Regions from separate parts of the Homo sapiens genome. Here region 2 is linked to region 1. The links are contacts of gene promoters, found by promoter capture Hi-C in blood cells and fetal thymus (Javierre and others, 2016). All regions are on one chromosome and are shown on one strand. The core of a region is centred on a gene start or on the middle of the fragment in contact, and the rest is flanking DNA. Distances in the headings are between cores, read along the strand shown. Region 1 holds the start of CLDN1 (claudin 1). Region 2 overlaps BCL6 (BCL6 transcription repressor).

Region 1 (4,808 bases), core at 1,998-4,497:
TGAGAATTAGATGAAAACAAGGCGAGAGGTACAGGTGAATCAAGAAAAGTCTACTACAACTGTATCTGGCACTTTTTGTATATTCCAACTTTCAGCTACAAGAATCCCCAGGGTCAATAAAATCACATACTTTGGATGAAATGGAAATTGTATCAGCCATTATAAAACTACAATACACAATGTGACATTTGTTTCCCCAGGAAGTGCCTCAGTTACATTTTCATAAACCGCTTGGCAAGAACTACCTAAAAGAAGAAGCCTTGCTCTATCTCATTTTGTATTTACTGTATACACTATTAGCACACTGTATTCCTTCAGATACTTTATGAAGGTCATATGCTTTTTATGACCTACCCTACATAAAGCAGGGAAACAACAGATTTTAATACTTCCCGTGCTAAAGCCCTGCATCTGGCCGGGAAGACAAGTGTGCTCTACTGGGAAAGACGGCAAGGTACAATTTCGGGAAACCCACAGCTAAGCTTTTCACCTAAACACACTTAATGAAATGCAGCTTTTTTCTGAGTGATACTGCTTAAATATACACACATAACCCTTTTCATCTCTACATGTAACAAAACTGTACCAAAACCAGCCAATGAATCACCATCCCAGATCTCTACAGCTGGTGGGCGTAAACACCACTGCTCAGGCAGAGAAATGAAGTAAGGTTTCCTGGGTTCTATCCAAAAGCATCCCGTGAGTCACGGCAGGTGAGAGGAGAACACCTGTGAGTCAAGGGTCCCTCTTCTGAGAATGGGTTTTGAGAGAAAGGCCTAAGCCACACCTTGGATAAACTATGGCTTTAAGTAAAATAAAAGTGGATTCTGATCTGGAGTTTTAAAAAAATAGGAAGACATCTCTAAAGTGTGTGTGGGGGGGTAGGTATTTAGTCCTTTCACCCTAGTTTTAAAAACTGTAATAACTACATTAACCAAAAAATGAAAGTAAAACATTTTAACACATTATCATGTGTAAGGATGATCCATTTGAGTATTTACAACATAGATCAATCTGATTTCATTTGGTCATTTCAGGAAGTTAAAAGAAAACCTATTTAAAGATGTTGAAAAGGAACTATTTTGATCAGAGGAATAAAACTGACAGTGAGACCTCTCTGGAATTGTCCTTAGAAACCTCCACCTGCCAATTCCTTAACGTGGTACCTAAAATGCCTGACACCGTTTCCTTAAATATATTTATCTTTCCATGGAGAAATTCAATAATTATTACCAAATTTTTCATTTTATAAGTACAAATATAACCCCTGAGGGCAATGAGCAACACATAATTACTAAACTTATGGATTGGTTTTGGTGTAAAGAAGTCCTGATATGAGAACCTTCAAAAGCTGAAATAATAACACTCAAAACAACCATGCACATTGACTGAGCAAATGCCACAGGTATTCAAGGTGTTCAAACAGATTTGGAACAGGTTTAATAACTCTAAACTATATGGCTTTTGATATACACTATTAAAAGTTGTCCCTTGATAGGAGGTAGACAAAACAAGTTAAGTAAACTTGAACAATGCCAACACTTTTCACCCTTAGCATGCAATGGGGGCCAGTGGGCAGTCACGTTCATCTAGGCAAAGACTAAGGGATCTTTTCTTCAAGTGAGTTAAAGGGCATAACAGACACATGATATAAGACAATTAATGTGATTTCTCAAGGAAGATACTCCAGCCGTGAATCATTATTATCTAAGTAAATGGGAATTTAATGACTTTTCGGACAAGGAACTCGAAACCTTTAATTTAAAAAACAAAGTAAAACAATTATCCTATTATCCTTCTTCCCACCATCCTTAGAAATATGTCTCTCTATACAATCCTTTCCAGTTTTACAGGGGGTCACTGAACATCCATTACACAGAAATTTCTTTGTGGAAGATGGAAACCTAAGGAAGACCCACCTCTTCTTTCTCTCTCACTGCCTTCCACTCCCAGCTGACCTCTGATTTCATCAGCTATGACTATTTTGCTGCATTTCCCTTCAGTGCCTTTACTTTTTTCTTTGTATTATGTTGCGCAGGTTATTTAGAACCTTTCTTGTCAGCCTTTCCCCACCTGCCACCAACCTTCTCTTTCCAAGATAGCACTACACCGTCAGCCTCTACAGAAGACCTTGGGTCTGAAAATTAAAACTTCGGGGGAATCTCAAGCAGCTTCTCCAAAGAGTCTTGCAAGGGGCCTCCCTGCACTAACTGGATCTTATAAATTAAAAGAATCAACCTCAAGCATAAGCAGAAGACACTTAGATAGGACATTTCCAGTAGGAATGTAACTTTTACTATGAAAAAATCATATTAAAGGTTAAAAAGTTATATCTAATACTTGAGGATTATTTATTTAAGCGTGCACACTTGAGAAGTTACCAGGCTTCAAACTTTTTCAGTCATCCCATTTTCTTGTCTGAACTCTACCAATCCTCAATTTACCCCAAATCTCGGAATGCCTAGGAGAGGTCTAAGAGCTCAAGTTCAAGTTTGGCCTTCACTCCCTCAACTCGAACCACCAGCATAGGAATTTAGGATGAAGCCACACCTAGAGTGGCAGAAGTGTCACCCAGGGAGTTAGAGGCAAAACTAGAGCTTATGCCTGGGCGTCGCTTTCCTCAAACCAGGATTCTCTTCATTTCCTTATGACAGAGCACATGATCAGAAGACTTGATCAACTGAAGACTGATAACCATGGAATCACACAACAGAATGAGCCCATAAGGGAGCTGCAGGGGGACTGGGGCCTCTGGACGGCCGCTGTGAGGTGGGGGTGCACTCACTGCTCAGATTCAGCAAGGAGTCAAAGACTTTGCACTGGATCTGCCCGGTGCTCTGCGACACGCAGGACATCCACAGCCCCTCGTACATGGCCTGGGCGGTCACGATGTTGTCGCCGGCATAGGAGTAAATCCTCCACTGGGGCAGGGCAGTGCTGACGATGGCGCCGATCCATCCCAGGAAGGCGAGAATGAAGCCCAACAGCTGCAGCCCCGCGTTGGCCATGACTCGCTCGGGCGCCCGCGCTGGCTCAGGGGTGGCAGGTGCAGAAGGCGGAGAGTTTGCAGGTGGGCAACCCGGACTCCCGAAGGTGGCTGGGCCCCGCGGAGGAAGTTAAGGCGGGGAGCCCTGCTCGCTGCGCCGCCGCTGGAGAAGCTCTGGGTCGGGGTTGGGGTCCGCGCCCGGGGCGGCGCTGGAGTCTGGATACTAGAAGCTGCGGTTGCTCCCAGGCTCGGGAACTGAGACGCAGAACCGCTGGGCGCCGCGATTTAAAGCAGCTCCGCCCGCCTCAGCCCCGGCAGCCGGGGAGCGCCCCCTGGCGGTTTCAGGGCGGCTCACCGAGAGGGCGCCGGGAGCGCCCGGTTGGGGAACGCGCGGCTGGCGGCGTGGGGACCACCCGGCAGGACCAGGCACCAGAGCTGCGTCCCTGCTCGCTTTCTCTCGTGGATCTTCTCGCTCCTGTAAGGCGTTTCACGCTTTTCATTCATTCACTCCAATTATCCAAAAATTACTATGCACTGTACTTGTAAATCCTAACACAAAGATGAAAAAATGATCCTTCAAGAGCTGCAGTTTTAGGTTTAATACTTTTTTCCCAATATCTTATTAAAAGGCATTTCTACCCAACTCCGCGTCTCCTCCCCCATCACACCATTTCTCTCTCCTTTGCTTGGCTTCCTCCCCCTTCTTTCCTCTCTCTGCTCTCTTCTGTCAAGGTCGTTCCATCACTTGTCTCTGCAAGGAGCCTCAGAGACTTTTACACTCTACAGATTGGGAAACAGACCCAGAGAGCAACATGATTTACACACACACACACACACACACACAGACACACTCACGCACGGAGCATATCCAGTACTTGGCTCCCCTCCCAATCTGCTTTCCACTACATATCAAGTTGACCCAAAATATCCCCTTTGATCTATGATTGTCCTTTTTGATGTATTATTGTCCTTATGAAACTGCAGGCTAGCAGCCCTTCCCCGCCAAACACCAACCTCCTCCCCACAGCAGTTATGTCTTAGAGCAGCAATTCATTATCAGAGGGACCTGGCCAGTGCCCCGCTCTCCCTGAAAGGTGTTAATTTTGTGAGTTATCAAATGTTGTTCGTCGCAGGTGAGGACATGTAAACAGCGTTTCCCCAGTGGCAAAAGGACTGGGCTGGAGTTGAGGAAGTCTGGGCTCTGGTTCCAGCTTTTACTGTGACTGGCTATCTCACCCCTCCGGTTTCGGTCTCGCTGGGACTGTAGTTTCCCTCTATGTTTCTCCAAAGCTTCCTTCTTTGTAGTTAGTCAGAAGTGCTGTTGTGGTTAGGAATCATTGAAATGTTTTTCCAACTGCTTTTTGTGTGTGGTGCGAGTGTGGTGGGAGGGGAAGCTTCTATGGTTTTAGTAAAAACAGAAGCATCTTGGAAGCAGAAATAAACATATTAAGGATAAAATAAGATATACCCTTATATACCATGGCAACTGCTAGTTGGTGACAGAGAAGGAAAGGTGCAAATTCTCAAGGTGGGAATGGGAAGAAAGGCCAAGCCCCACCACCTTCATTTCCACCTGGCTCTCCCTGGATGCCTTTCATGTAGGCTTAAAACTAAAGGACTTGGCCGTGCTAGGATTTAGGGACAAGCAATGAAGAATGTAAGACAGGAGCTAGATGAAGACAATTAATTTGGACTGAGATTAACACAGTGAATACTGTCTTTCTCCTATCAGCTGTTTAGGACAAGACCATGTTCGTGTTGTATCCCAGGGTTAGGGCCTGCAGTCAGTACTACTGTCTAGGTCTCAGTGGATGTTCTGTGG
Region 2 (5,012 bases), core at 1,067-3,566, 2.6 Mb before region 1:
AATGCAGCAGGCAATGAGGGGAATGACACAGCCCTCTCATTCCCGGAACGTAGTCAATCTCGGCTCTGCGGATTTCACAGAACACACTTTGCCTATTGCCGGCTCCAACAAGAAGTAACTTTCCAGGAAGCTGCCGGCCCCGGCAGCCGCCAGGATCGCTGCCTGCGCTGCGCTGGCCGCCGGGGATTCACCCAGGGAGGCGGGGCCGCTGGGGAAGGCTCGCGGGGAATACAGCACACTTTCCCCTAAATCCCTCGTCCGCGCCGAGTGCAGGGCTCTCAGAGTTCACCTAGTCCCACCTCTCACCCACAACAGTTTATAAATGGGGAAGGTCAGACAAGTTAGTAGCAGAGCTGGGTCTAGAACCCAGGAGTTCGAATACAATCCGAGGCTCATATCGAGACTTTAAGTTGTCCGATTCCGAAGTTTATTTGCTTTTTTCCCTCTTTTTGCCTTCCATTCTCCCTCACCCCCGTTCTTTTAGGGGAATGTTTGAGCGAGACTTCAAGGTCAAAAGATGGAGTCCCTAGGGGCTGAGGGTCTCCATCATAGGCGCCCCAGGCAAGGTTGGAGAAAAACTAAACAGAAAGCCCCTTCCGCCTACGTTGGCAAGAACGGGAACCCAGCTCCACTTGGTTTCCGCCCAAAGTCTTTAGAACAGGAGCTGCCAAGCCGTAAGGATTTCCGAATCCGATTTCCCCGAAACCGTAGAGACACAGCTTGGACTCGGCAAAGGCCGGGGCCCCGACCCCTGCGCGCGCACTGGCACTCTCCAAAGTTGCCTCGCCTTCCTGTGGCCCTCCCGGGAATTATAACCCCCGGGTGCCATGTCCTAATTGGTCTCGGTAGCAGGCTCCGGGGTGCGCTTTCGGGGGCTAGGGGACAGCGAAAGACTCAGCCACAAAGGCCGCAGTCTGGTCCTAAAACTAGCCAGTGGCGTCACACTGCGCCGCTCATCCCTTCTGCGGCAAGCGGAAGGGTCAGAGTCGGTCTGCAAAGAACGAGCCTTTGGCCTCAAAATCCTACATTGAGGCTTTCTCACCCCTTCGCCCGGTGGGATAAAGGTGAAAGAGACGGTTGGGATTTAATAAGGGGTAGGGATGAGAATCTGGGAAGTTAAAATGAAGTAAGTGCATTTATTGGAAATTAGGAGTCCCGTGGTTCCGGGAGCTCAAACCGAATGGTGTTTTTACCGCTGCCTAACGCTAGAGAGAGCCCTCCATCAAGGTTTGAAACCGTCAACCCCTTTCTCGCCCCTCCCCTCCTTCCCATTGACCTAGTTTGGCCAGAGCCTCCCGATTTGGAGAATGCCTTCCGCCCTTCCCCCCTCCTCTCCAGCCAGAGAGGCTACAGAGGCTGTTGGATTATTGGTAATCTAATAACTCCAATAACCCGCTGAAAAATCCAAAGGGAAATCTGAAAGTGTAAAGCACTGTTTAGGGACAAGGACAAGGAATTTTAATAAGGCTGCAACTGCCGTAGTGAACCCCGCATCAGGGGCCCTGCCGTGGGGCTCCCGGTCTCAGCAGTGTTTCAGCCAACTAGCTGCACGGCTGCAGACACCACCGTGGTCCGGCGGCAGGGGGTGAGGTCAAATCGCGGAGCTGTTTTTATTCTTGGGGGAAAACACTCTTCGCCCTCTTGGCTGGGGAACGGGAGGGTGCAGGAGACGACAGTAAATAAAAGCGAATTTGATAACGCGATGGCCTCGACAGCCGCTTTGGATAACCGAGGTGTTCGGGGACATTGTGTCCTGACTTTCATTTCTATCACGTTTCCTGCCAACAGTGCTCTTGCAAGCCTGCAAGCTTCTAGGAAATGCAATAAAACAGAGGGATGTGTTTTATCATCAAGATCTGAAGAGGAGTTGCAGAAGGGACGTTCCCCATACGCTCAGCGCGAGACAGCCTTCCAGAAGGGCCCGAAGACAATGCCAGCAAATCGCGTCCCGGAGCAGAGATCCCTCGGCCGTCCTGGCTGGACTGGGCTCAGCCTTTGCAAAAAGGCTGGCGGGGGAGGGGAGAAGCATGATCTCCTCAAGCAAACAATGCCTTTAAAAATCCGATCTGGAAAGAAGTCAGCCAAGGTCCTTATTCACGTTAATGAAGATGGAAGGCACTAACTGTCCTTGGAAAGCGATGAGTCAAACTTGACCGCGCTTCAAACTCGTTCCCAGATTCGTTTCCAGTCCGAACAGAGGCGCGTTTCTCCGACGCGGCCTCCGACGGCTCCCGCAGTGGGAGGGGCCGAACTCGATCCCCGCCGACCCGGGCGGGGGCGACGGCGCTGTCTCCCCCTGCAGAGCGCGCCTGCTGCCGCTAGGGGCCGCCAGCATGCGGACGCGCGTTTGCCATCTTAAGTCACGAGCTCGGAGAAAGAAAACTTTACGGAGGAACTGTTGTGGCACAAATTCTGGCCTATCCACATGACCCCCACCCCCTCACACACACACACCCGGTTTCTCGCCAGGCTACTATGCAGAGGATGTTAGGAAGGGGAAGAGAGCGATTTCAGAATCGAGGCTCGCCCTGCAAGTCTTTGGTCCAGGCCTTAACCCCCCTCTTAACACGCAAACCCCCGAGCTCCGAGACCCACACCCTTCAGCACCATCTGGGCTTTTCGTGTCATTACCGAAAATCTTAGGCCATATTTTCTTTAAAAAAAATCCTCCAAGACTGCTGGGGAGCGGTTTCCAATGAACACTGGCAACAAAGGTGACCTAAGAGGTTAAACTCATGGTTCTGGCAGCCGCTCCTTTCTCATAAATACTTCTAAGGAGCTGAGATAAACCCGCCTTTGGCTTTCAGTCACTGACATGAAATTCAGAAGCTTAAAATCTGGTCCTGGTTAAGTCACTAACTCACCACTAACAAGCCTCCTCGTCGGGCCTGTTTCCTCAACTGCAAAACAGAGTTGTACGTCCCAAAGCCCCTGAGCTCCTAGGTGGCATCCTTCCACTACCGACTTCCCCTAAGAGGGGCCACAGGGACAGGAAGATGGTGTGTTCGAAGCGGGTTATTTGTGGTTTTTCTTAGTGCAAATAGATGCTCATCGCTGAGTGATGGGCAAGCAGCGAGGCCTTTCTGATTTTCATCCCTCTTGCCAAAACTTTGGAGGTTGTATGCCATCCCCATTGGAGGGTGCCCTCCTTCTGTCAGTCCTAGCATCTGGTCAGGGTACCGCCGCCCGGGAGGTGGAACGGCGAGCCCACCGCCCATGGCCGCGAACTCGATCTCAGCCCACCGCTAGGTGGCAGGCCAGCCCGTCCGAGAATCGCCGCGCGGCCGCAGCTTCCACACCGATCCCTACCCGCCCCTCTTTATTTTCTGTCTGGTGGGGGCGAGGGTTGGGGGTGTGATTGCCTCTAAAAGCAAAGCTAGAAAACATTTAATTTAGTGTATGTAATTCCGTTCCTCCCGATGCTCCCGCCTCTAGCAACCACAACGCGGTATCTGGAGCTGGTTTCATGTATCATAAGTTGATTTCTCCCCCAGCCTCCGAAAAGCTTTATGTACTGGGAAGGGAAAGAAGGTGCACTTGTCTTCAAAAGGCAGAATGGCACTCGACAGTATTGGCAGAGATTCTTGCCAAACACTGGTCATCCAGCAAAGAAAGTCGGGAATAAACTCCTGATCTTCTCGGAGGAAAGGGGCGCTGGGGGCCGAGTGCTGGATCCCACTCAGGCTCACTGCGCCTGGCAAAGCGGGGGAGTGGGGAGTCGGGTATGGTCTTTTGGTGAAGTTGTGGGTCTCGGAGTGGACATCGGGAGGGTTGGGAGGGGCCGTTCCTGGTTTCCACTGGGGCAAAGAGAAACCAGCCAGTTCTGCCACCACGCTGCACCCTCGCTGTGCTCGCGGCGGCAGCGGCGGTCCCACTTGTTGCGCAGTGCTGGAAACCGGCACGCGCCATTCGATGTTGATTCACAGAGGGCTACAGACCAGCCTACCATTGCTCCACGCCATCCACAAACCTCCTCAACACACCCCCTACACATACGTCCTGCCACCGCCGGCAAAACTACAGCATTTCCAGCCACTATGGTGTTTTACACCAAAACATCCCTCACTATCTCGGTATCAGACAGGCAGCAGAATTAAGATGCCCTGAGAAGTCAATCCAAGGGGAAGGCCGGGCTACCTCCGCCTGGAGAACTCTTCTACTTAAAATCAACCAGGCACCCTCCCCCCACCAAAAAAAAAAACCTTAGAACCACGTTGCCTATTATAACACCATCCTAGTTGGAAAGCAACATTTTTCTTCCCTACTTGATAAACTTCAAAGTCCTTTTTATCCGTTAGTTTTATCTCCCCTATTTTTTTTAAATCTCTGGGGGAAAAATGTTTCATAAGTTCACTTCCCAATATTTTTCAAAAATTGACTTTTGCCAATAGTTTCACCCACCGAGGGGTGGCGCTGCTGCACCGCCTCCTCTATATCTCTTAAGTTTTTCACAACAAAGTGGGTTGTGAGTGTCATTACCCTGTAGGGGATAGAGGGAAGGAAGGGTTTTGACATCTAGCCGTGGCTACCATTTACTCAACCAATAACTGGAACTCTTCAAGGGCTCAGCAAACGACAACTTAAGCATTTAGAGTCCCATCCCTATCCACCAAACCCAGAATAAGTTAGTCTTTTCAAGAAAGCATTGGTATAAAACCCTTCAAAACTGAAAAGAAGAAAGGGGCAATTGGAGAATTCCCACTTTTTCTGGCTGTCTCCTTCAAGTCGCCCAGTTTTTATGAACAGCATCTAGCCTTACTGTCACTATCAACAACCCTTAAAACTAGCCAATGCTTCGGCCTCTAGTATTGGAAAGTCTTCCAAATAGGATACTGGAAACTTCTATTTATAAGCTTGGGGTGGCGGGCGGGGCGGGGAGGTGGAGAGAGAGTTGCCATCTACAGGTTTCTATTTTGGCCTGAAGACTCAACTGCAGTCATTAGAGTAAGGGAATGCCCATCTCCTGGTACTTGTTCGCCATTTCCTCCTCCCCCAGAGACAAATATCTTTTC

What was found. The method cuts DNA at HindIII sites, captures the fragments that hold promoters and counts their contacts. A CHiCAGO score of 5 or more calls a contact.
Region 2: a fragment that was not itself captured here is called in contact with the fragment with the promoter of CLDN1 in region 1 in 1 of 17 cell types (naive CD8 T cells); the score reaches 5.9 in naive CD8 T cells.

The regions. Positions count from the first base shown.
Region 1 is chr3:190,319,199-190,324,006 of GRCh38, forward strand. It overlaps CLDN1 (claudin 1), which reads right to left and starts at 3,248. Exons shown (of 4, transcript NM_021101.5): 1 at 2,786-3,248. The coding sequence starts at 3,008. It also overlaps a transcript of CLDN16 not described here. RefSeq lists a silencer at 3,239-3,398. The HindIII fragment of the contact is 3,794 bases long and covers 481-4,274 here.
Region 2 is chr3:187,737,790-187,742,801 of GRCh38, forward strand. All of the region lies in intron 1 of BCL6 (BCL6 transcription repressor), which reads right to left. Among named protein-coding and RNA genes, the nearest start is that of BCL6-AS1, 3.4 kb to the right of the region's middle. RefSeq lists enhancers at 328-1,307, 3,400-3,901, 3,902-4,401 and a silencer at 1,809-1,984. The HindIII fragment of the contact is 1,021 bases long and covers 1,807-2,827 here.